4 separate regions of the Homo sapiens genome follow, and all the other regions are linked to region 2. Evidence: promoter capture Hi-C in human tissues and cell types (Jung and others, 2019). All regions are on one chromosome and are shown on one strand. The core of a region is centred on a gene start or on the middle of the fragment in contact, and the rest is flanking DNA. Distances in the headings are between cores, read along the strand shown. Region 1 has its middle 37 kb from the start of CYP4F8. Region 2 holds the start of OR1I1 (olfactory receptor family 1 subfamily I member 1). Region 3 holds the start of AKAP8 (A-kinase anchoring protein 8). Region 4 holds the start of AKAP8L (A-kinase anchoring protein 8 like).

The links. Contacts are between HindIII fragments. The study calls those that stand out against the background at their distance.
Region 1: a fragment that was not itself captured here is called in contact with the fragment with the promoter of OR1I1 in region 2 in 1 of the 25 tissues and cell types used here (lymphoblastoid cells).
Region 3: the fragment with the promoter of AKAP8 here is called in contact with the fragment with the promoter of OR1I1 in region 2 in 5 of the 25 tissues and cell types used here (IMR-90 fibroblasts, aorta, bladder and 2 more).
Region 4: the fragment with the promoter of AKAP8L here is called in contact with the fragment with the promoter of OR1I1 in region 2 in 2 of the 25 tissues and cell types used here (IMR-90 fibroblasts and spleen).

What each region holds. Positions count from the first base shown.
Region 1 is chr19:15,576,144-15,581,198 of GRCh38, forward strand. It overlaps the pseudogene CYP4F23P. Among named protein-coding and RNA genes, the nearest start is that of CYP4F8, 37 kb to the right of the region's middle. The HindIII fragment of the contact is 3,197 bases long and covers 350-3,546 here.
Region 2 is chr19:15,078,957-15,083,666 of GRCh38, forward strand. OR1I1 (olfactory receptor family 1 subfamily I member 1) reads left to right here and starts at 3,255. Exons shown (of 2, transcript NM_001004713.2): 1 at 3,255-3,320. The HindIII fragment of the contact is 16,029 bases long and covers 1,264-4,710 here.
Region 3 is chr19:15,377,436-15,382,282 of GRCh38, forward strand. AKAP8 (A-kinase anchoring protein 8) reads right to left here and starts at 2,352. Exons shown (of 14, transcript NM_005858.4): 1 at 2,278-2,352. The coding sequence starts at 2,296. It overlaps AKAP8L (A-kinase anchoring protein 8 like), which reads right to left. Exons shown (of 14, transcript NM_014371.4): 13 at 3,082-3,177; 14 at 2,615-2,995. The coding sequence ends at 2,687. RefSeq lists enhancers at 1,493-2,408, 2,343-2,637, 2,409-3,323 and silencers at 1,598-2,147, 2,488-2,977. The HindIII fragment of the contact is 19,214 bases long and covers 1-4,847 here.
Region 4 is chr19:15,417,591-15,422,583 of GRCh38, forward strand. AKAP8L (A-kinase anchoring protein 8 like) reads right to left here and starts at 1,398. Exons shown (of 14, transcript NM_014371.4): 1 at 1,321-1,398. The coding sequence starts at 1,333. It overlaps WIZ (WIZ zinc finger), which reads right to left. Exons shown (of 13, transcript NM_001371589.1): 13 at 2,388-4,993. The HindIII fragment of the contact is 22,741 bases long and covers 1-4,993 here.

The DNA.
Region 1 (5,055 bases), core at 698-3,197, 500 kb after region 2:
GAACTTCATCCAAGGCTCCCAGGGAATCATGGGAGGTATTTGAGAAGATGAGGGTCATGGTCAGTGCTGAGCTTGGACGTTTGACTCTGTGGAAGATTGACTGTTATGTAGACAGAGGAAGCAAGGAGACCATGGAGAGGAAGAGGCCTGAGCTTGGTGGAGAAAAAGGGGCAGATTTGAGAGAAACCAAGGAGAAATAGGCAGGAGCAGATGTTGTGTAAGATGCCCATGATGGCCAAGCTGTGCCCTGGGGCATCTGGGGCAGGAGGCAGCTCACAGAGAGTGGGAGGCAGAGAGTGAAGTGTGCTTGCAGGGCACCCTTTTCTGCACCGAACGTGGTCCTGGGATTCTGGCTAGAAGGTGCTCCCAGGCTTTCATGTGTGTTTAGAAGCTGCTTCCTCTTCCTGGCCTGACCCTGCGGGAAGCCCAGCGAATATATTGATGCCATCTTGGAGCTCAGTGCCCTCAGTCTGAAACGGCACCAGCACATCTTCCTGCTCACGGACTTCTTGTACTTCCTCACTCCCAATGGGCGACGCTTCTGCAGGGCCTGTGACATAGTGCACAACTTCACAGATGCTGTCATCCAGGAGCGGCGTCGCACCCTCACTAGCCAGGGTGTCGATGACTTCCTGCAGGCCAAGGCCAAGTCCAAGACTTTGGACTTCATTGACGTGCTCTTGCTGGCCAAGGTGGGCTACTCTGGGATCTGAATTTCAGAAGTAGAATGGACTTTGACGTGAAATGTCAGATCCATGAACTTGGACTTGATCCAGAGGGCACTGGGGAGCCATGGAAGGTGCTTGAGGAAAGGAGGGACAAGTAAGATATATTTTAGAGGTGACTCTGTAGAAGAGTTCCTAGAAGGAGCAAACAGGAGGCAAGAGACTGGGAAAGAGTCCTGCTAGGCAGGTCTAATGATGATAAGGGAGGAATCTTGCCTGGAATATGGATCTTCATGAACTGTTTTAGGTTAGACTCAGGTGCCTTCATGGCTGGTGTAATTTAGAGGTCTTGTCTTGTCTCCAGGATGAAAATGGAAAGAAGTTGTCAGATGAGAACATAAGAGCGGAGGCTGACACCTTCATGTCTGGGGGTGAGGGTCCCAGGGTGTGATGTCACTAGGGGTAGGAGTGTCTCCATTCCAGGGATGTGGTGAGTGGACCCTGGATCACCCCATCCCATCTTCCTTCCCCACTTCCTTCTGAGGGCCTCAATACATGGGTGCTGTCCACCCTTGGGTGCTGAAGCAGCCCAGAGACCCAAGCTTACCTGGCTGCCCCTCAGGCCATGACACCTCGGCCAGTGGTCTCTCCTGGGTCCTGTACAACCTCGCGAGGTACCCAGAATACCAGGAGCACTGCCGACAGGAGGTGCAAGAGCTCCTGAAGAACGGTGATCCTAAAGAGATTGAATGGTGAGTGTGCAGGTCCTCATGACCTGTTCCTGAGTCCCTCTCATTGGTTTAGCTCTTCAGGTGGGAAAGGGAGAAGGTCTTATTGGTGATTGTGCTATTACTGCCTAGTGGGAATTGGTGCAGAGCTCAGAAACAGGGCCTGGTACTCAGCCTGGAGCAAAGGAAATGTTGCAGGATTTTTGCCTTTACTATCTATTGCAATTAAACTCATTCAATTATTTTTTCTTTTTTGTTACTTCTTTCTTTTTTCTTTTCTTTTTTTTTTTTTTTGAGACAGTCTCACTGTGTCATCCAGGCTGGAGTGCAGTGGCATAATCTCTGCTCACTGCAACCTCTGCCTCCTGAGTTCAGGTGATTCTCCTGCCTCAGCTTCCTGAGGACCTGTGATTGCAGGCATCCGCCACTATGCCCAGCTAATTTTTGTATTTTTAATAGAGACGGGGTTTCACCATGTTGGCCAGGCTGGTCTCGAACTCCAGACCTCAGGGGATTCGCCTACCTCAGCCTACCAAAGTGCTGGGATTACAGGTGTGAGCCACAGCGCCTGGCCAAACCTATTCAGTTCTAATAGATATTGCCGAATTGCCTTTTAGAGTCTCTGCACTGATTAACTCTCCAGTGTGTTGTAGAACTAGTTCTCTTTGTTTCCTCCTTTTTGATAGCTGCATAGTGTTCTCTCATAAGGATGTACTGTAATTCATCAAAACATTTCTCCATTGATGGATATTTGTGTGCTTTCCAGGCTTTTGCTATAACTAACATGATGTAGTGGGCACCCATGTACACTGACCATTGCTTACATCTGTGAGCAGCTTTGCAGTACCAATTCTGAGAAGTGCAGTTGGTGAACTGAAGACCATTTGAGATTGACAATTCAATAGCTCCTACACACACATTTTGAGAATGCCTTCCTCACATTCTCCCCTAAAGTGTCTATTATGAAACTTTAAAACATTTGCCAATCTGATAGATGCAACATAATACTTCAATGAACATCACTTTAAGCCTGGGTAAAGTTGAGCATTGTTTTCACTTACTGACCATGGGTATTTCTTATTCTGTGAAGTGTTTGCACAATTTGTTCCTTCTAGTTTGGGTTTTGTAGTTTTTTTCTTATTGATTTATAAGCACTGCTCACAGATTAAGAAAACTAGTTCTTTTTTTCTGTTTTGCAAAGTTCTTTTTCAGATTGTCTTTGAATTAATTGTTGGTTTTCATTCATTTATTTTGGCTTGATTAATTTATTTGCAGTCAAATTCTTTCCTTTATACGTGCCGTTTTTTGTTTTTTTTATTATTTTTATTATTTTTTTTTTGAGACAGAGTCTTGCTCTGTCACCCAGGCTGGACAGCAGTGGCACCATCTCAGCTCACTGCAACCTCCGCCTCCCGAGTTCAAGTGATTCTCCTCCTCAGCCTCTCAAGTAGCTGGGATTACAAGTGTCCACCACTATGCCCAGCTAATTTTTGTATTTTTAGTAGAGATGGGGTTTCACCATGTTGGCCAGGCCTCAGGTGATCCACCTACCTTGGCCTCCCAGAGTGCTGGGATTACAGGCGTGAGCCACTGCGCCTGGCCATGTTTTTGTTTTTTTAAATCATGCATGGGACATTCTTTCATGCTCTAAAATTAAAATGTAAAACTCATGTTTGTTTTCCTCTGATGGGTTTATTTGTTTTTAAAATATTTTATTTATTATTTTAGTTTAAAAATATTTATTACTTTTTTCTCTATGAAGTCTATGATAGTATAAGAATTGTTGTAGGAATGTATTCATTTTCCTCCAAATGGCTAGTTGCCCCAACAGAATTTAATGAATATTTTGTATTTGTCTTACGATTTTAAATAACAGCAGATTCACAATAAGTGAAATTTATTTATATATTTGGGTCTGTTTCTTGGGCTTTATTCTGTTCCACTTAATTTTATTTATTTATTTATTTATTTATTTATTTTATTTTTTTTTTTTGAGACAGAATCTTGCTCTGTCGCCCAGGCTGGAGTGCAGTGGTGTGATCTTAGCTCATTGTAACTTCCATCTCCTGGGTTCAAGCGATTCTCCTGCCTCAGCCTCCCGACTAACTGGGACTAGAGGTGCACATCACCACACCCGGCTAATTTTTGTATTTTTAGTAGAGACAGGGTTTCACCATGTTGGCCAGGCTGGTCTCAAATTTCTGATCTCAAGTGATCCGCCCAACTCGGCTTCCCAAAATGCTGGGGTTCCAGGCGTGAGCCACCACGCCTGGCCCAGTTAATTATATAGTCATACATAAGCATCAAGATGTCTTCATCATTATACTTTAAATAACACTTTCATATTTGATAAAGGTGATCCTATTTTATTACTTTGCTTTTACAAGTTTTTCTTTTTTTCTTTTCTTTTCTTTTTTTTTTTTTTTTGAGATGGAACCTCGCTCTGTCACCCAGGCTGAAGTGCAGTGGTGCAATCTCTGCCTCCTGAGTTCGGCTCACTGCAACCTCTGCCTCCTGAGTTCAAACTATTCTCCTGCCTCAGCCTCCTGAGTAGTTGGGATTACAGGTGCCCACCACCACGCCCGGCTAATTTTTTTGTATTTTTAGTAGAGACAGGGTTTCACCATGTTGGCCAGGCTGGTCTCGATCTCCTGATCTCAGGTGATCTGCCTGCCTCGGCCTCCCAAAGTGCTGGAATTACAGGTGTGAGCCACTGCACCTGACCTGAGCACCTCTTCTTATTGTCCCACTTATGCCTAGTGTTCCATTATTGGAATGCTAAGCATGTGGGAGTTATTCATATTCTACTGCTCCAGGTCATTGCCAAGGTCTGATTTTCAAAATTCAAAAAATTGAAACCTCAGGCATAAATGGGTTAAATCTCTTATAGACCTCAGGGCATCCATGATTTCTTAGATCATATTCTTTTCTACTTTTCTCTTGGGTCACCTGTTCTTTCTCTTGTTATTTTGCAGGAATTCCTTGTATTCTAGATATTGTAGAAACCTTTGAATCTCTCATCTGAATGTTCATTTGGTCCATGGTATCCTGTGTTACACATAATTCCTTAATTTTCATGCATATTTATCCTTTTTCTTTTTGATCTTCTACTTTGTCCTTTCGAGGTTTTAAGAATTCCCACCCTTAAGTCACAAAAGTGTTTCTTCTGTTATCTTCTCTTAACTTTATAGCTTTATTCATCTCATATAGGAAGAGATTCCATCCTGTATATGAAGTAGACAAGGATCTGGTTTTTTTGTTCCCAAATTTCCAATTGTTTGAACATCTTCCTCCAAATCATCTATCAATTGCCCAGGGGTGTGTGGGCCCCTCTTTACCAGAAGTTGTTAAATTTTCACCTATTCCTGTGCCTGACTGCAAGCTCTCTTCTCTCTTCCTCTGGTCCGTTTTCCTGTTCTTGTAGCAGTACCAGTCTTTTCTTTTCGTTTCTTTTCTTTTCCTTTCTTTCCTTTTCCCTCCTTCCCTCCATCTTTCTTTCTTTCCTTCCTTCTTTCTTTCTTTCCTTCTTTCTTTCTTTCTTCCCTCCCTCCTTCTCTCTTTCTTCCCTCCCTCCTTCTCTCTTTCTTCCCTCCCTCCTTCTCTCTTTCTTCCCTCCCTCCTTCTCTCTTTCTTCCCTCCCTCCTTCTCTCTTTCTTCCCTCC
Region 2 (4,710 bases), core at 2,005-4,504:
ACATTTACCTGTGTAACAAATCTGCACATCCTGCACATGTACCCTGGAACATAAAAACATAATAATATTTTGAAAAAACTCTATCAAAAAATAAATAAATAGGATTCTGCTATTTATTCTGCTCTAAAGACCCATGCACATGTATGTTTATTGCAGCACTATTCACAATAGCAAAGACTTAGAACCAACCCAAATGCCCATCAGTGATAGACTGGATAAAGAAAATGTGGCACATACACACCATGGAATACTCTCCAGCCATAAAAAACAATGAGTTCATGTCCTTTGCAGGAAAATGGATGAAGCTGGAAACCATCATTCTCAGCAAACTAACACAGGAACAGAAAACCAAACACCACATGTTCTCACTCATAAGTGGGAGTTGAACAATGAGAACACATGGACACAGGGAAGGGAACATCACACACCACGGCCTGTCAGGTGGTGTGGGGCAAGGGAAGGAAGAGCATTAGGACAAATATCTAATGCACGCAGGGCTTAAAACCTAGATGATGGGTTGATAGGTGCAGCAAACCACCATGGCACATGTATACTTACGTAACAAACCTGCACGTTCAGCACATGTATCCCAGAACTTAAATTAAAATAATAAATAACTAAGTACATATAAAAATTTAAAAGACTGTCCGTTCTACTTGACCACTGCCACATCAGGAGCCCTTGACCCTTGCCAGAATTCAGGAATCCCCATCTCTCCTAGATTCTAATCAAGGAAGAAAATCAGGGACTATATAAAAACCTTTTAGGTGTTGGATTTTAAAAAAAGCATTTGTGCTTGGAAGAATGGGTGGAGAGTGGCTGAAGCCCAAGATGCTGAGAGAAGAAATCTGGACCTCACTCCTAGAGAGGATAGAATGAAGTAGACCACCCCCTTCTTCCTCCCTCCCAATGTTCATTGATGGTTTCCTGGTACCAGACTCATTGCCACATAAAGACTCTAAGATTTTCCCAAAGCAATCAGCACTGGACTCCAAACCAACATGACTAGAAAACTGGACTCTGGGAGTGTATAACTGGCCCTGCCTTATACCAATTTCCCAGGGGGGGAAATGTTATTTTTGATAACATTTTCTATAGAGTCATATCAAAAAGAAAGGCTTTTTTCTTCCTGAATATATCTTTTATTCCTCCTTATCTCTCTTCACTCTTCCTTCTATAACTGGTTTCAGAATTCCCAGGAGAGTTCGGATGGGAGACACCAATGTCCTACCTACCATGGCTTTGGGCAAAATAATTTTTTTTCAGAACCACGGACAGTGGCAAAAGTTTGTTCACCCAGTGGGACTTTTTTTTTTTTTTTTTTTTGAGATGGAGTCTTGCTCTGTCACCCAGGCTGGAGTGCAGTGGCACAATCTCGGCTCACTGCAATCTTCGCCTCCCAGGTTCAAGTGATTCTCCTGCCTCAGCCTCCCAAGTAGCTAGGATTACAGATGCCCACCCACCATGCCCAGCTAATTTTTGTACTTTTAGTAGAGACTGGGTTTCACCATTTTTCCCAGGCTGGTCTCGAACTCCCGACCTCAAGTGATCCACCCGCCTCAGCCTCCCAAAGTGCTGGGATTACAGGTGTGAGCCACCATGTCTGGCCACCTTATGGACTTTTTAGGTGGGTTTTTCCCCAACCTTTGGGCTCAAATTGATTTTTTTTTTTTTTTTGAGACAAGGTCTCACTCTGTCACCCAGGCTGGAGTGCAGTGGCATGATCTCAACTTGCTGCAAACTTCACCTCCCGGGCTCAAGGGATCCTCCCACCTCAGCCTCCTGAGTAGTTGGGACTATAGGCACGTCCAGCTAATTTTGTATTTTTAGTAGAGACAGGGTTTCACCATGTTGGCCGGGCTGGTCTCAAACTCCTGAGCTAAATTGATCCACCTGCCTCGGCCTCCCAAAGTGCTAGGATTACAGGTGTGAACCACCATGCCCAGCCTCTGAAAATAATTTTAATTTTAAAAAAATAATGACAGTGGGATTGGCACCTACTCATATCCCCATATGTCCAACGCGAAGTTGGTCTACCTTGTTCTTGCTTTGAAGCTGACCTCCCCACAGAGTTACGATCCAAGAGCCAACAGTCCAACAGCCAATATTATTAGGGAAAGTAATTCTAATATTTACTAAAGCCCCTAGGAGAATTTCAACAAGTATCCTACACACGTTCTGTGTGGCTGATAGGAAGGATTTTTTTTTTAAGAGACAGGGTCTCACTCCGTTGTCCAGGTTGGAATGCAGTGGTGCGATCACAGCTCACTGCAGCCTCAACCTCCAGGGCTCAAGTGATCCTCCCACCTCAGCCTCCTGGGTAACTGAGACCACGGGCATGTGCCACCAATCCTGGCTAATTTTTTTAAATTTTTTGTAGATATAAGGTCTTGCTGTTTTGCCCAAGCTGGTCTCAAACTTCTAGGCTCAAGGGATTCTCCAACCTTGGCCTCCCAAGTAGCTAGGATTATAGGCATGAGCCACCGTGTCCAACTCCAGTGCCAAGCAGGTGATCAAGAAGTGTTTGATAGGCCGGGTACAGTGGCTCAGGCCTGTAATCCCAGCACTTTGGGAGACCGAGGAGAGCAGATCACTTGAGGTTTGAGATCAGTCTTTCCAACATGGTGAAACCCTGTCTCTACTAAAAATACAAAGACTAGCTGGGCATGGTGGTGGGCACCAGTAATTCCAGCTACTCAAGAGGCTGAGGAGGGAGAATTGCTAGAACCCAGGAGGTGGAGGTTGCAGTGAGCCGAGATTGCTCCACTGTGCTCCAGGCTGGGTGAAAGAGTGACACTCCATCTCAAAAAAAAGTGTTTGATAAATTTATTTATTTAATACCGATTTATTGATTGATTGATACTCTTCGGAGCTTTCCTTAATGAGCCAGTTTCTTCCATAATGCAATGAATGAAAGGACCTCTCAGATTCAGGCATCTGAGTGCCCGACTGGAGTCTGGGACCCCCCAGACCTCTCTGCCTGGGAGCTTCCATGAAGCTCAGCCTGAGCTGGAAGGAGACCGTAGGGAGATGTCCTAGTGAGAGTGAATCCCTAGTCACTGTTTCCTCTTCTTACCCACTCGATGATCCCAAAGCACACCCATCTCCAAAAGAACAGGTCACATGTGGCAGAGGAGAAACAAAATAATTAGCATCCGCTTCCTTAACAAGGAGCTATGGGGACGAAGTCTCCTAGAGTCCCCAGACTATAAATACCCTGATGTTCCCCTGGCTCCCCCACTCACCTGCAGAGTCTGGGGGCGGGGGGGTACACATATGAATCCTTCCCATAGACATCAGGCTAACCCCAGCGATCACAGGTGAGTAGCCCCCATGCCCTTCCTAGGGGTTTAGTGCTGACCTCGGGATCCTCTAGCAGTTGGTGGAGAAGGAGGCTTCCCGGGACCCTCCCCTTGGTGATGCCATCCTGGTGAGCAGGTGAGGGATGGGGAAAGGATTGAGCTGAGGGTGGGGGTGGAGGGTTGTGGGAGAGGAATCTGTCTCCTTCCTAGAGGCCGAGAGAGAGAGAAGAGACTGAGACCAAGTCTAGACTCTCTGAGTGGACAAAGCACGCAGACGGCAGACCCTCTGTGGCAGGATATGTGGAGGAAAAGCACTGAGGGTCTGCAGCTGCAGGACACCTGCACAGATAGGAGAGGTCTTGAGAAACAAGTTTCTCCAATGCAGCAGCTCCCCAAGTGTGGTCCCTGGGCTAGAAGCACCAGCATCCTCTGGAAACTATCTAGAAGTGCTGGTTCTTACACCAGACATTTCAGGGAAAGGGCTTAGCTTTTTGTGTATGATGAGTTTGGGAGCGGGGGGGAGGGGGCGGGGGGATTGTTTTGTTTGTTTGTTTGTTCTTTCTGTTTTTGAGACAGGGTCTCGCTCTGTTGCCCAGTCTGGAGTGCAGTGGCATTATCATAGCTCATCGCAGCCTCGACCTCCCAAGCTCAAGTGATCCTCCCTCCTCAGCCTCCCGGGTACCTGGGATAACAGACATATACCACCATGCCTGGCTAATTTTATTTTCGTAGAGGCAGGGATCTTCCTATGTTGCCCAGGATGGTCTCACACTCCCGGGCTCAAGAGATCCTCCTACCTTGGCCCCCCAAGCAGCTGGGACTAACAGGTGTGTGCCACCATGTCCAGCTAATTTTTTATTTTGTAGAGATGGGGGTCTCACTGTGTTGCCCAGGTTGGTCTCTAACTCCTGGACTCAAGGGATTCTCCCACCTCAGCCTTCTGAGTAGCTGGGACTATGGAAGCATGCCACCATGCCCAGCAGATTGTTTTATTTTTTGTAGATCCAGGGCGGGATTGGGGGTGGGGTGGCCTCACTTTGTCTGCCAGGCTGGTCTTGAACTCCTGGCCTCAAGCAATTCTCCCACTTCAGCCTCCCAAAGTGCTGGGATTACAGGTGTGAGCCACCATGCCTGGCCCGCTTTTTGTGTTTTAACAAGCCTTCCAGGTGACCCTGAAGCGTGCTCAAGGTTGAGAACCGCTGCTCTATGCAACCCAAGTCAACAACTGAGGACTGTTACAAATATGTTGCCAGGAAGGGAATCGCAGTATTCTATCCAGCCTAGAGAAAACCAAGCATTGCATTGCAAAAACCTCAAGTCCAACACTAAAAAGCCTCAAAAAGTTAACATAGGGCTTTGCTGAAGGCCTCTTGGGGTTACCAAGGAGATTATGCTGCTAACCTTCCTA
Region 3 (4,847 bases), core at 1,102-3,601, 300 kb after region 2:
ACATAAATTGCATCTTTCTAAGCTGCACTTCCTGCCACTTTTTGTTTTTTTGAGGCGGGGTCTTGCTCTGTTGCCCAGGTTAGAGCGCAGTGCCGCGATCTCGGCTCACTGCAAGCTCCGCCTCCTGGGTTCACGCCATTCTCCTGCCTCAGCCTCCCGAGTAGCTGGGACTACAGGCGCCTGCCACCACGCCCGCCTAATTTTTTGTGTTTTTAGTAGAGACGGGGTTTCACCATGTTAGCCAGGATGGTCTCGATCTCCTGACCTCGTGATCCGCCAGCCTCGGCCTCCCAAAGTGCTGGGATTACAGGCGTGAGTCACCGCGCCAGGCCCTTCCTGCCACTTTTAAGGCCTCCACGGATCCCCTGGACCTTTAAGTCCCAGAGCCTTCGCCTGGCCCTAAGGCATCAGACAGCACTCTTCACCCCTCCACACCCCCCGCCCACTATGGCATCTGTCTGGTCCCTCCAGGAAGGAGAATGGGAACTGTGTTCTCTTTATTTCTGTGTCCCTGGGGCCCAGCACTGAGCTGCGCGCGGGTGGCCACCATGCCTGTTAAATGACTTCACTTTGATGAGGCAGGAACATATCCATGTCTCCCTCACCAGAACAACTCCCCCGCCCCCGGCTAAGTGCCTAGTGCGTGCCGATACACCGCAAGCACCCAGCAAACCCTGTTGTCCGGAATGCCATTCAGAGACAAGGGAGCTAGGCTCATGGGTTACGAGACTTGACCCAGTCATACTGCTGAGTTTTGCCCTCTGCTATGCTACGCCTTCCCCTCCGTCATACCGCAAAACCTTCTAAATTCGCATCCGTGCAGCAGAAAGGCAGACTGCAGATTCCAACAGCAAGTAACCAACCTCGAGAGACTGCTTCTCTGTGAAGCTCTAGTGTAAGTGGCACGCACTATTAACCTTAAAACGCTCCCGGAAACACAAGAAATCAGGGAAGCTTAACTATCTCCAGTGTGTCTGAAAGGTTTTCGGCAGGTAGGAAGAGGGGGTAAAAAAAACCTCTCCAAACTAAGAATGAAAAGAAGGAATACAATACCTGCAGAAAAGATCTGATGGGAAAGAAGGGAAAGAATGGTGAAATCTACCCAGGCTGCGGAAGACCAGGAGAGCCAGGCTGAGCCTTCGCTAGGACCCGGAAGACACCAAAGCACACCGCGCACGCTGCCGCCTCAGGACCGAAACCTCTCTCTGCAATTTCTGGTGCTGGGATACTTTTGCCCTGCCACTTCTCAAGATCGACAACTTCTCGAGCTCCTGCAGCCAGGATCAGACCACTAGCTTCTCTACAACCAGTCGAGCTCCACCCAGCATGTCCCAACTATCCCCTGTGGGCAAACTTTGCTCCCAAAAGGCTCTGATTCCAGAAGCAGGGAGCAGGCAGCTCGAGAAGATCGGCCCTACTGCAGGCCAAGCGCTAAATCCTAGTGGGGAAAGGACACGTTCCCTCCTGCACAGCCCCTCGGCCCCTCCAGGCCACCACAACAGACTGCCTAAAGGAGAACTGCCAATGTCACCAGCCCCAGGGCACATCAGGTTTCCAGCTTTATACGAACACTCAGCATCTGCCCCTCACCATCCTGTCCCAAGCCAGCACGCGCCGGGTACAGAGCTGGAGCCCGGCGAGGCTGACTCTCGCGCCGGCAGCACTCGGCCCCACCGCGCTGCACCGGGGACTAAAGGCCCGACCCCGCGCAGCCCGACGGCTTCCGGGACAGGCGCCCTGGGCCACGTGAGCCCAGCGGAGACCCTACACGGCCCCGCGGGCCTAGGGCAGGTCGGGAGAGAGGCGGCCCCCGCGGTCCGCCCGCGGCCCCAGACCCAGCTCCCCGGGTCCGACCTCACAACCCCACGCTGTAGCTCCGCCCCCCTAGCGCCGCCATTTTGTGGCGTCTTCGGAAGAGGAAGCCGGGAGTGCAAACCCCGGGGTCGCTGGGGGCCGGAAGGACTCCGCCGAAGGTGAGGGGCAAAAACGGCCCACACTGTCTAAGACGCCCCCACGAAGCCCACCGCGGCGTCTGCCCCAACCCCGAGTCCCGCCCGCCTCCTCGGGGCCTGGCGGCCAATCCGCACGCAGAGCCCCGGGAGCGACGGCGCCAAAGCCCAATGAGCGGCGCGCGCGCGCCCTGGCCGCCTCTCCGGAGGGCCCAGCTGGGGCAACCACGCTCGGGACGAAGGCCCGGCCGGCGGCAGTCTGCGCAGCGGCTGCGTCGCCCGCACAGAGCCTTCCCTCCCCGCTCCGCACCCAGCAGCCAACACAAACCTCCGTAGCCCTGGTCCATGTCTTCGACGCGGCCCACCAGCAGCCCCGTTTACTAGGCGACCACAGCACGCATGCGTTCAGCGCACCTCCGCCATCGACTACTGGAAGACCAGGCGCACACGTCACTACTTCCGCGCGCCCCCATTGGCTGGTCTTCACGAGGGCCCGCCCTCGCCGTCCCAGCTGGCCTTTCGGGCTGCTACGATCCAGCTCCGTGGCCTAATGGGAGTTGTGGTCCCACCGCGGTGCCCGACGGCCCGGCCCGCGCGCATGCGCACCCCGCCCCTCTGCCCACCCCGCCCCGCCCGCGCGGCACAGTAACAGAGAAACCCGGAGGTGGGATGGGAAAACTTTATTAGGTTTGGTTTCCAGCTTCGGCCACGCGGGCTCCGCCCGCCCCGAGCTCGGGTCACGGGGCGCCCCCGCCGCCCTCCTCGTCGTCCTCCACGTCGAGGCCCGGGATGCCGCGGATCTGGCGTTGCAGCGCCCCTCCCAGCAAGGGCACGGCGCCCTCCTCCTCCTCCTCTGGGGGCGGCGGCGGTGGCGGCGACACGGCCCCGGGGGCTGGCTCTGGGGGCACGGGAGGCTGCGCCGGCACGCCCTCTGCGCCCTCCGAGATCCCTGCCGCTTCGCCCTGCGCCCCCTCGTCCAGGGCACCGCCCTCAGCCTCCTCCTGCTCCTTCTCCTCCTCGGGGCTGTCGGTGAAAGGGTTCTCGCCCTGTGGGGAGGGGCGCGGACACTGAAGGGAGGGAGCACAGGCGGGGACTAAGCTGGGGACAGGGCAGGCCCGGACCAGTGCCTCACCTTCAGGTAGCGCTCCAGCTTCTTGCTGATGAGCTTGTTGTTGAGAATACTGCGGGCCACCATGAGGGAGGACTTCTTGGACTGCTCCATCATGAGCTGCGGGCAGGGCAGAAGGAGCTGGAGAGGCTGCTCTGAGTGCCCTACAAGTTGCTGCCCCGACCCTGCCAGCTTAGAGGGACCCCACCCCGCCCCTGCACCCACGCACTTCCAGCCCCACCAACGGAGGGCCACTCCACAAGCATGGAACCACAACCTATCTGATCTTTGTTCAAATTCCCTCTCCTTCCACACCACACTTACTGTAGGTAAATAAAAATACAGATCTATATATCTCTAACTTTACGGCTGTATTACAGAAATCTGATTTGCTTACAAAAAAGCTATAAGCAGTGAACAATTAAGAAACTAAGAGCCAAAGGTGGGTGCAACCTGTAACAAGGTGCCAACTAGGCTAATAGGCAAGGAGCACTTTGGGGCCAACGGGGAAGATATAAAAACAGGAACAGATATTTAATGAAACGTCTTTTTTAACCCACAGAATTCCAAGAATGAAGAATTATTCCCAGTCATGCAAGGGTGAAGAGAGTCTTCTCTGCTGGTGGGAGGATCAACTGTTTCCGTATTTTTTGGAAAGCAGTTTGACACAATGTATGAAAAGTAAAAATCTGTCTCATTAATCCCTTCCCAGAACGTATCCTAAATTTAAGAACTGGAAACATGCGTGCACACTGATTGTAGTGGTGAAAAATGGGAAAACACCTAAACGTTCCTCAGTGCAGAAGAGGTTAAATAAATCGTACATTCAAAAGAACATCATGCAGCCCTTCAAATCGGGCTCATCTCTGCACTGGCATAAGAAAGGTGTATAATATAGTACTGTCTGCAGAGCATGCCAGAGCCATTTTGTCTGGAAGGATTTCCATCAATATGCTGGGCCATCTCATGGTGGGAGTACAGGCAAATCTCACTTTGATCATTATAAAAACCATAAGGTAAAAGAAGGATATTTTTGGTGGGGTGGGAGAGCCCATTGAGTCCTTCCCACTCCATTTACATGTTTCAGAAAGCCTTCTCACTTGCTGTTTCTACTCTCTCCATCTTCATTTTTTTTTTTCCTTAGCACGTTTTCTCTACTACTGGAGGAAAATATTAACAGACATCATACATGCTCACAATAAACTAAAGATACACAATTAGGATACTACTATAGACCGTTCCCCCAGTGACTCTCACTTGCCAACAGTTTATCCTCCTGGTTCTAGATGCCCAGATAACCACACCATAAATTCTCCCAAGTGAGGCACATTTATGTTGCTTCCAGATCTTCTCCACAATAACCCAGCAACACTAGAATAAACTTGTACACTTCCATGCTGGTGCTTTTCATTCTAACCAGGTTTGGTTTCAAAGTGATAGTGCCCAATTAACTGCAGAACATTTGCAAGTCATGCTTCTTCCACCTGTGTTAAAACAATGACCTGGTCCTCCTGCCTGCCCATCAGCACTGGATGTTGTCACTGTTGGGTATTTTTGCTGTGGATAAAAGACAGAAGAATCTGTGCTGCTGCCTCCCACGGCATTTCCCTGCCCACCGGCGAGTGAGTGCTCTGGTAAGCACACTGGAACACCCGCCCACAGTTTATAATTTTCTAACTATTTTCTGATCTTGGTTTTCATTTTTCACATTTAAATTTTTTTTTTTTTTTTTTAAGACAGTCTCGCTCTGTCGCCCAGGCTGGAGTGCAGGGGCTCTCAGTTCACTGCAA
Region 4 (4,993 bases), core at 148-2,647, 340 kb after region 2:
GGGATGGTTGCTAGAAAAACTGGGGTTCTTGGAAAGCTCCTGACCTGGCAGCCAGGGTAGAGGGGACTGGCACTACCTTCTTGCCTATGCCAACATAAAGTGGTCTACAAAGGAGCCCCACAGACTCACGTTGCATTCTCAGTTCTCAAAATTCCAAGTAGAATGCAGGTTACCTGGCAACCACACACGCTCAAGCCTATAATACCCTCACCAAACAGGGAGGCCTAGTGTAAGTCTCCTGGCCGAGAAGCCTCATCAGTCACTGCCAAGGCAAACCCAGGAGGCCTTGGCAATTCACCCAGTGATGATTTACAGTCGCCCAAGCATATTGCGGGGGGCGGAGAGGGGCTCTCGGATCTGTCACCCACTCTCCCTTTCAAATCCCATTGGCCTCCCACTGGCCTCCCTGGCTGATCTTCTAACAAGCCAGGCAGTTCCTGCCCGTAAGCCTTTTACAGCAAAAGCTCCCTGGGCCAGATATCTTTATTCGCTCCCTCCATTTAGGTCTCTGCTCAAATGTCACCTCTTTACAGAAGGCTCCAACCACTCCACGTAGTGGAGCGACCCCCGCACGGTACTGACCACCCTAAAATATATCCTACACTCGCTTATTTGCCTATTAAGATCCTCGCCTCTAAGCTGCTTGAGGAATTCTTGTCTGTATTCCCAATACCCAGTCTGTACCGGACACGGTTCATTTGACAGACGCAGAGGGAATTAACATGGAACCTTGTCATTCCTTGCAGTTCAGCCCCTAGGGGCCCAAGGCTCCCCGCTCAGCCCAAACCCTTCCAATATTTACTTATCCCCCTAGGGCCTGGCGCCTTTCCCAGTTCTGAAATAGACAAAAGGGGGTGGTGGGTGGGATCGGGATGGGGGTGTAGAGCTGCGGCGTTTTTGCAGAGAAACTGCGCGGGGGAGGACGCGACAATGGCGACGGCAGCCGAGCCTGCTGCCTGCTCGCAAGGACCAAGGCCTGAGAAAGGGAAACCTAAGGCGTCGAGGTCCAGGAGCGCAGGCCAGGGACGGAGGTGGTGGGGGCGGAGACCTCGTGCGCTGAGGCCCGGACCCACGGACACAGGCGACAGAAGCCAAGACATCAGGCGGCCGGGAGCCGGGACGCCGGCTGCAGACACAGAGAGCTGAGGCAACGAGGCGTGAGGGCAGCGACCCTGAGGCGACGGGCCAGCGGCGCCATTTTGTGACCGCAGGGAAGGCAGTGACGGGGCCCCAGGGGAGGTGCGGGCAAGCCTGGTGCGGCATCCGCACGTCCCTGTCCCATCCCCCACGCAGAGCCCGACCCCACCCTGCCAGGCCCACCTGTGTAGCTCATGGTGGCGGGCAACACAACATCCGACGACGCCGGCTTCTGCTGCTCTGAACATCCGACGCTGCGATAGCTGCTGCTAACCACAGGGTCCCCTCCACACACACCCGAGCCCCGCCTCCCGACCGCATTGGCTCATACCGGCCTCGGCTTCACGTCTATTGGAAGGAACCGCTGTCTATCTCTATGCCTCCTCATATCAGTGGCTGGAAGCTGCTGGCAATCTCGTGAGAGCCCCGCCTTGTCCCCGCCTTCTGTTATTCTAAGGCCTCAGTGATTGGCCTACAGAAGCCGGCAGAGAGGCGGAGTCCTATAGAATTTGAGGGGGCGGAGCTGTGCACTACGGAAAGGCCCAAGGCCCAAGCATGGTCGGGCTGGAGGAGCGCCCGTACCCTGGAGACCCGCCAGAGGGAGTCGGGTCTACGGCTCAGGGCAGGGCTGGGATGCCAACTCCGCCACCGAGGTGCTGGGTAGGGGACCTAGCTAAGTCTCTCAAATTCTCTGGCCTTCGGCTCCAAAACAAGCATAGCAAAGCCATGTTGAGAAGAGAAAATTAAAACAGCACCAAACAAGATGCTGGACACACGTTTCAACATTACGTGACAAAGTGTGTGTAAAGAAATCATTCTGGTGCCAGTGCACTGAATAAATGTGATTAATCGTAACAAAACGATAATATATTTATATGGCATATGCTTATATGTGTAATAATTCCGTTTGTATTGTGTGTCATTCGAATGCTCCTTCAAACCTGCAAAAAGCTTTTAATCCTCACTTAAAACTGAAGCTTGGAACTCATGATTTGCTCAAGGTCCTTGACAGTTACGTGTTAAAATGGGAGCTTTGCTTCTAAAACCCTCCTGATTCACTCTGGGCTCGAGAGATCCTGCAATAGTGCAGCCGGGCACCAGTCATGTCCTCAGTCTGTTTCCTGGGCATATGGAAACCCTGCCAGGGACAACTCATAATTTCTAGAGATGACAGAGCTGCACCGAAGAGTACTTAACACGTGTGTTTGTGAAAACTCATTAAGCTGCGCAATTACGACTTCTACGCTTCGTGTGTTTTAAAACTTTTTTTAAGGTATGCTGTTTCTTTTTGATATTGTTGATTTCTTTAGGTGTAATAGTGGCATTTACAACGTTGAGAGAAACATACTGAAATACTAAGAAGTTAACTGATCTTATGGCCAGGATGTGCTTCACACAATTCAGACAGGTAGAGAGAGGAGGAGGAAGCAAGGAGCTATAAGATAAATCTCTGACAGCTGAAGACATTGGTCATGGGTTGGTGATGGATAGATGAGAGTCCATTTTACTGTTTGCTCTACTTTTGTATAGTTGGAATTCTCCATGATAAACTGTTTTAATAAAACTCCCCCCACCCAAATGAGGCTTCTGCAGAACTTGCTGCCATACGGAACAAAGCCACTTCTGATGTGTTAAGTGAGCAAACTCCAAACATGAAGCAGAGATCTGACGGATAAGCACTCTGGCTTCGGGGTTCATCTCCCCATCAGCCTCAGGGATGCCTGCCTGTCTTCCAAACCAAGGCAGGGCCCCAGGACACGTCTTCTGCGCCCTGCAGGTTCGTTCCTTCATCGCACTTGCCACAGTCATCATTGTACCGATTTGATTTCGTTCACATCCAACACCCTCAGAGACCACGGCTCAAAAGCTGAGACTTTGCTGCCTGAGGTGTATTGAAGTGGCTTGAGCAGAGAAGAGCAATGCTCAGAAAGTTTTAGGAAAACATCCCCCTGCAAGAACTGGAGGTGACTCTTCCAAGGACACACATGACCCTCACTTCACTGCATGATTGGTGGGGAGGAACTTGCCATATGACTTTATAAGCTCTTGTATCATTTGACTGTTTTTTGTCACATCTAGCCTATACCACTTTTATATTTCAAAAACTGACTTACGGGCCGGGCATAGTGGCTCACGCCTGTAATCCCAGCACTTTGGGAGGCTGATCACTTGAGCTCAGGAGTTCAAGACCAGCCCGGGCAACATGGTGAAACCCCCGTCTCTACAAAAATTACAGATATAAGCCAGGGGTGGTGGTGCATGCCTGTGATCCCAGCTACCTGGATGGCTGAGGCAGGAGAATCACTTGAACCCAGGAGGCAGAGACTGCAGCGAGCCGAGGTCCCTACACTGCACTCCAGCTTGGGCAACAAAATGAGACCCTGTCTCAAAAAATAAAATAAAAAAATAAAAACTGACTTATGAAAAGTTGAAAGAGGAAGAAACACCTTTGAGTCAGCTCACAAGATGCTCTCCCTGCTTCCTAAGTCCTGGATACATCCACCCACCCACAGCACAGGATGGAGAGAAGTGGTTGCGGCCTTCTGCCACCAGGCGAGATGTGCGTCCTGACCCCACAGGAGCAGACGTGTGGGCCAAGACCACCCTTGTGGGCGTTATTGCAGCCTGTTAATCCCTCCTTCCCAGGAAGGGGTATGGTGGGAGGGCCCAGAAAGCAGGGCTGGGGGTAGAGGTGGCCCCTTCTGTCCACACGCCATGAGGTCGTTCCCACTCTCCAGCACTTGACCGTTTAGTAAAAACGATGAGCTGAAAAACCACATGCAATAAACAAGAAGGAGCAGCCAACAAAATCTCTTAAAATCTCAGAAATGTTCAATAAACATTTGCAGAGCGAGAAAATAAATAACATCGCAAAGGAGCCAGTGGCTCCTCTTTTCCCCGCATGTTCCTTGGGTCAGGGGTGCATGTGTCTCACTAGAAGTCACATGTATTAAAAGCAGGTGAGTTCCAGCTCTCTACAACCCCACTGGCCCCCACCCAAATGCTCCCAACGGGTCCCTGACACCCTCGCTGGTAGCTCCTGCCTTTGATAAGCTCCTCTAGCCTCAACTGCTTCTTGATCCTGGCTCCCTTCCCAGACAGGCTGCCCAGAACCCTGGTTCATCTGCTCACTGGAGCCGCTTTGCCAGCCAGCCAGAGACCCCCTCCCAGCCATGGCCTAAAGAGCCAACAGCTGGGAACTTGGGCTCATCCCCAGCTGCGTCTGGTCGGCTTGGCGGCCAACTGGAAAACCCAGGGCCTCCATGGCGCTCTGGACAGAGGAGGCCCCGATCCCAGCCCCGGCTGCCAGCCAATGCCAGCCTGTCCACTTGACAGAAAAACACACGCTGGCCGCCTGCCCCAGGGTGTTTCCAGAAGAGAAATTTAATCTAATTTACATACTTCTAGGTACATCGATAACCAAAATGTGGCCACTGAAAAAAGTTAAAAGGTCAATCAGCTCCTGGCTTCTAGCTGGCCCAGGATTGCAAAATAAAAAGATCCACGTTCCTTATTCTCTACACAAAACGCGTTTTTAAAAAAGTGAAAGGTCTAGGGAGCTATACATAGAAAGCAACAGTGAAAAGGGAGAGGGAGCAGGAGTGGGGGAGGAGAGTCCCACCCCCCAACCCCACCCTCCAGGGCCCCAGAGCCCCTGAGGCTCTTTGGGGGGCCTTGACATGGCAGGAGGCAGCTGTCAGCTCTGAGCTCTTCCCAGCTGGGAAGGCCCCTCTCGGGGGCAGCCAACAAGGATTTCCGTGGCATTGTGGGCTCAGTGGGGGGCTCCCAGGCCCCAGCAGGCCCCACAGAGGGAGCGTGGCTTCCCCTGAGCAAGCACCGTGGCATGATGTGGTCG